2 separate regions of the Homo sapiens genome follow, and region 1 is linked to region 2. Evidence: promoter capture Hi-C in 16 types of primary human blood cells and fetal thymus (Javierre and others, 2016). All regions are on one chromosome and are shown on one strand. Each heading gives the region's core, a stretch centred on a gene start or on the middle of the fragment in contact. The rest is flanking DNA. Distances are from core to core; before and after follow the strand shown.

The links. Contacts are between HindIII fragments. The CHiCAGO score rates a contact against its expected background, and 5 or more counts as called.
Region 1: a contact is called between a fragment that was not itself captured here and the fragment with the promoter of KRT10 in region 2, in 2 of 17 cell types (M0 macrophages and M1 macrophages). The highest score is 5.8, in M0 macrophages.

Annotation. Positions count from the first base shown.
Region 1 is chr17:41,324,619-41,327,540 of GRCh38, forward strand. It overlaps the pseudogene TBC1D3P7. Among named protein-coding and RNA genes, the nearest start is that of KRTAP17-1, 10 kb to the left of the region's middle. The HindIII fragment of the contact is 7,062 bases long and covers 1-2,922 here.
Region 2 is chr17:40,820,769-40,823,899 of GRCh38, forward strand. KRT10 (keratin 10) reads right to left here and starts at 1,846. Exons shown (of 8, transcript NM_000421.5): 1 at 1,191-1,846; 2 at 267-349. The coding sequence starts at 1,817. The region is part of intron 1 of KRT10-AS1 (KRT10 antisense RNA 1); the gene reads left to right. RefSeq lists an enhancer at 1-86. The HindIII fragment of the contact is 8,212 bases long and covers 1-3,131 here.

The DNA.
Region 1 (2,922 bases), core at 295-2,794, 500 kb after region 2:
AATGAGAGAGCAGACAAGGCAGGCATGTGAACAGATCTGGGGAGTATCACTCGGGGGTTCTGACAGGACAAGGATCAAAGAAGGGCCAGGGTGGCTGGGGAAACATTCACCATCTCTGGGTTGACAGGATGGCAGAAATTGGGGAACAAGCAGGGTGGGTGGCTGGAGTGCAGGGAGAGGCAGGTGGATGCCGGGAGGTCAGACCCTGTGAGGGCTTGGGAATGTCGGGTGGGATGGGCCCTGGATGCACCCTGGGTACACCAGGCAAGTCTCAGGCCAGGATCCCTAAACCTCAGCAGGGTGATGTGGTCACTCCCTGAGGGACTCCTGTCAGGGCCCGGCTACCCACCCTGGGTGGCACCTGTCCCGTCTCGGGCTGATTTTTCTCAGCCACCCTGGCCAGGTGACCTCCACTTTTAGTGAAGGCACCTTCCTGTGTCGCCAACTTATCTGGAGCCTTTAGAATGTCTCTGCTGAGGGCCCCACAGAAGCCCAGGACTGAACGGATACCCCCAGGGCTACACAGGTACCCCCAGGCCCCAAATGAGACGCCTTTTATCTCCATCAACAGAGGACATCTTATCCCCCCGTGGCTGCCCTCTGTGGCCTGGAGCCACACCCTCTGGCTCTGATTCTGTGCAACTGACTGTCCCCTCCGTGAGAGTCCTCCTGCCCTCCTGCTGGCCAGGCTCCAGCTGCCCTTGGTGCCCACAGATGGGTCGATGAAGCCCAGATGGCAGCATCTCCCCTTCCCATGTACCCTGGCCCGACCCCACTTCCAGGAGACGACCACGAAACCCAGCACCCACCCAGTTCTTCCCGCCCTCTGTCATGGCCTCAAAGTCAGCCTTGCCTTCCTAGCACCCGGGCCCAGGAGGCCTCCAGGAGCACCTCCGGCCAGGCTCCAGAGGATGTTCCCATCCCTCTTCCCCAGGGCCAAGGCCGCATGGTGGGGTCACCAGGTGGGAGGGTGGGAGGCCCGGTGTTCATGGGCCTTTGCAGCTGCCCAGCAATTCCAGCCGACAGTTCCACATCTTGGGAACAGGCTCTGATTTCATGATGGGCTGGAGGCTTCTCAGGATTCCACAGCCCAAATGGCACAGGGGTCCAGGGGCTCCAAGACCACCAGGAGCATGTGGTACCCACGTCACACCCCAAGACCATGAGGCACTTGGTGAGTTTATGGTCCCCTCGACTCTTCCCTAGAGGCCCAGCATCCCATGGGGCCAGAGGAGTCGGGGGTGCTGGAGCCCCTCGTGGGGCTGGTGAGAGGCTGAGTCCCAGCCAGGGCCTGACCTGGGACGTGGGGTTCTCCATGTACTGGGAGTTGGGTTTCCTTTCCTGCCCTGGAGGAGACAGAGGCACAGGGACAGGGGCCCAGCTCCTGCAGAGCAGGGCTGAGGGCAGTGTGTCCACTGGGAATGCAGGAAGGGGGAAGGTGTTGTGGGGAGCCCTGGACACCACCCAGTACTCTGCACTTGGGGAAGGGTCTTCAGAGGGCCCTAGAAGAAGGAGGTTTTTAGGGCAGGCTAGGGGGCCCTGAGCACCTCTGTTCCTCCTGTCGGGACACGGAAGGGCTATGTGCTCAAGGTTCCTCATTAGCTTGGCTTCTACAGAGGGTGATCAATGGGATAAGGAGGCACAGGGAGACCGTGGCTCAGGGACCCTCCTTGCCCTGCAGTGCTCTACTTCCCCAGCCCAGGGGTCTGGCTCACCCCCAGCCCACAGGAGGCTCAGGCAGGTCCCTGTAGGACACACAAGCAAGGCCCTCTGCCCAAGAGGGGTCATCCCCCAGCAGAGGCCAGGGCTCAGGCCCAGCCTCATGGATAGACTGACCCAGGACCTAACTTGGGAGGGCTCAGGGAAGCCAGACCCAGCCTCCTGGAGGGGTCAGATGACCCTCATGGGGAGGGTCACTGACTCTGGGGGACTGAAGCCCCAGTGGGCCCAGATCCAGCCACCAGCCTCCAGCCTGGACGAGCCAGGGCCTCCCACACCTGTGTCCCCACAGATCTCTCTCGGGCTCACCCTAAGCCTGTGGAGGGTGTATTTGGTAGAAAGGAACAGGTGTTGATGCCAATGGCACGCACTGCCTTCAAGGTTCAGAGGAGTAAGTCCACGTGTGCCCAGTGGGGCCTGGGAAGCTCTGGGGTCAGACCCCGACTGGCCCAAGGGCAGCTTCCTCACACTGTCCCCATGTTTCTCTGCTCCAGCCCAGAAGAAGGTCTGGCCTGGTGAGCAGGGCAGGGCACAGTGATGCCGAGCCCATCCCGCACGTGACCCAGATGAAAGTCGGGAGTGTGGCAAGCACTTCCCTGCCCAGGCCTCCCCCAAACCACAGCCTCCTGTGCACATCTGCACCCCTGTTGTGGCCACAAAATGATCCGGCACCACCCAGTGGGAGACGACAGAGGTGGCAATGGGGTGTCGGCTCTGACGCCTCCCAGGGAACTTTCCTGGCCTGATCCTCACCCTGTCCCTAGAGCACCTCATGAAGGCTTCCAGGTCTGGCCTGTGGGCGCGTTTTCAGGACCAGTTCCCCCAAACCTGGGCCCTGGACAGTGATGCAGTTCTTAGGCACCTTCAGGCCTCTGTGCTCTGTAAGGAAACTACCAGGAAGCATGGGGACCTGCCACCCCCAGGAAGGCTCCAATACCCAGTCCCCCCACCAAGTCACCTTCTGGGGCAGTCAATAGTGGGGGAGTGCCTGTGACCCCAAACCTGGGCCTTCCTCTTACATCTTTTCTTCCTCCTCTTCCTCCTGGATGCTAAGTAAGTGCAGGAGGCCCACCGGTCCTCAGGGCAGGCGCTCAGTGCGTGTGTACTGGTACTCAGTGCTGTGCACACAGGAGGGGGATGTGGGCAAGACCCTCCAACAAACCCCCTCCCACTTTCCATTGTCCTGCCCTCCCCCTCAAATGG
Region 2 (3,131 bases), core at 596-3,095:
TGGCAATATTTGTCATGTACAGTTCTCTTAGAAGTAATAGTGGTTTAATGGAAAAAACCTTAGCAGTTACTTTAAAATGCATTTTCTTCCTTTAATATTGCCAAAAAGGTAACACTGACATGGAAAATTTCTCAGATAACTCCAATACTATTTAACTTTGGGTGAATTCAGAAAAATGTAAATGTTATTGAGGGCATCCCAAGTCATTGTTAAAAACCACTGATGTATTCGTTGTGATAGTATTATACAACGATCACTTAACTTACTTCAGCCTGAAGTCATCAGCTGCCAGCCTGGCATTGTCGATCTGAAGCAGGATGTTGGCATTATCAGTTGTTAGGTTGAGAATCTGGAGGGAGAGGCACAGTTATTTGAGAAGAGGTCAGATGCAGATATGGCTTTTGTAGTGACATAGATGCACTCTGCACTTTTATGTTGTTCTCTTACAAAATCTTGGGAAAATTTTTTATTTTAAATATGAAATATTGCAGGCTTACCCATATACTTAACTTTGAATTATTTGTTCTCTTGGAATTTCTCCAGTCTTGTATTTCTGTACACGAATTATTCCTTTCTGAAAACTAACTGGAATTATATAGATGTATTCCTGTAAGTGTGCCCTCCTCTTTTAGACTATGTGATTTCCATGTATTTCAGCCATGCTTTGGCTGACTCACACCTGCATTTGTTTAACTCATGATAAATACTAATAAATAAATACACTCTGAACTGGTACACAATAGGTACAATTCAGAAATTCCTTAGAGGCAAGCAGTGTCCCATTTTCATACTGGAAAATTTATTTTTCTTGCCATGTTGGTACTGAATATGGCTTGTTATCAGTCTGAATAACATTTTGTTCTGATTCATATCATGATTTTTTTTTTCAGTTTCTACATTTGTAAATAGCCTAGCATATTTTAACTGTGGACTCATTGTATGCTCATTAAAACCTCAAAAGTGCTTAGTAAATCTCCCATCCTCTTAAGACAAGTAGCACACTTGCTGGATGAAGATTGCCATGACCATAGTTTCACAGATGTTTATCTTTGATGAGACTGGGTTATTTTTGAAGGAAGAAAGTAACATGGGTAAGCATAGTGAACAGCCACATTGTGCTTAATTTAAGATTCATCTGTCTGGATTACATGGACAAGATACTTAAAGCTGGATTTAAAAATACCTCTTACCTGATTTTTAAGGTCATCGATGGTTTTGTAGTATTTGCTGTAGTCACGAGGCTCCCCCTGATGTGAGTTGCCATGCTTTTCATACCACTCCTTGATTTTGCCTTCCAGCTCATAGTTTGATTCTTCCAGAGCCCGAACTTTGTCCAAGTAGGAAGCCAGGCGGTCATTCAGATTCTGCATGGTTACTTTTTCATTTCCAGAGAGAAGGCCACCATCTCCTCCAAATCCACCACCAAAGCCTCCTCCAAAGCCGCCTCCACCAAAGCCGCCTCCACCAAAGCTGCCCCCACCAAAGCTGCCACCTCCGAAACTGCCCCCTCCAAAGATGCCTCCATAACTCCCACCAAAGCTGCTACTTCCATAGCTTCCACGAAAGCTACCTCCACCAAAACCTCCTAATCCTCCATAGCCACCTGATGAGCCCCCAAAGCAGCCCCCACCAGAGCTCCCACGGCTAAAAGAGCCACCACTGAACCCCCCTGAGCTAAATCCTCCACCAAGGGAGCCTTTGCTGCTAGAAATTCTTAGGGATGACACTCCTCCTCCTCCTCCACATCCTCCTCCTCCTCCTCCTCCTCCACTGCGGGAGGAAGAGTAGTGCTTGCTTGAGCTGTATCGAACAGACATGGTGATGCTGTTTAGCCCAGGGAGTGCCTGCTACCAAGGACAGTGACAAGCCTTTATATACTGAGAGGGTGTGTCCACATGTGTTAGAGTTTGCTTACTTACATTGTTTTCTTTTTGCCAACTTAGCATCTTTGGCTTATGATTGCATAAATTATCTTCAGTAATAACCAATCCTAATATGTACAATTTTGAATTTGCCCTAAGAATAAACAGGAGGTTTGCTATGTTGAAATTGAAAATGGGTGGAGTTCAGATGAGCATGTTTTATTATGCTTTTCACCTGTTGAAGAACATTGAGCAACCGTTAAGATCCATTTTTCTCAGCACTAATTCAGGTTGCATAGAATGTTTGCAAAGTTTAGAAAAAAAAGTTTCAGCTACAAAATTATAGTTAAAATAAGATTTTTCAAATTCATGTTTTAAACAGTTTTAATTGGAGCAACAAATAGCATAAAGTCTGGCAGGATCATGCTACAATAAGGTTCTTGTAGACAACTGTAGGGAATCAAAAAGAAAAAGTTTCTAAAAATTTAACTAGCATCAATAGTTGCCACACATAAAACATTAAAGCCATAAAACCACAATTTAGGAGATTGTGTTTGTAGGAGATCTTTTAATTTATTTGGCAAATGAGAGTATATTGATATTTTGCCTAAGAAAGTGGAAGTAATGATTTTAGAATTTTCTAATTAATGATGGCATTATTTTTAACATTAAAAAATCTGAAATCATAAAGTTATCCTGGATTATTTTGCACTTTTAAATTCATCATAGTTAAGGTTTCTGTGAAGACCATAATAATGCAGAAAATCTGCATTATTTTCTTAGCATGAAATCCGAAGAACTAACTTGTAGTACTTTACACTAAGTTCTGATTGAGTAAAAAGGGAAAATTTGGATATGTTATGATTGCAAGTAAAAATTTGCTTGCAAAAATGTAAATCTATATTAGAGAATGATACTTGCACCAAATATTATGAACTAGACTGTGCACATGTGTTCCCAAGCTAGGTTCAGTTTCTCAATAAAAACAACACATTTTCTTGGATATACTGTGTACAGAATTTGGTATAACAGTTTGTCTAGTGAAGTAAATTGGGATTTTGGTACATTGTATAAGATTATATCTACCCATAGGCTATGACATTGCTGTTGTTTGGATGTATATATTCATACATGTTTTACAATTATGTAGTGCTGTTTGTGATACTGTGCTTTAAAAATTTCTAGAACAAGCTGTTGAGATAGGAATGGTGGTTATTATTATTTCTTTTCTTTCTTTCTTTCTTTCTTTCTTTTTTTTTTTTTAGACGG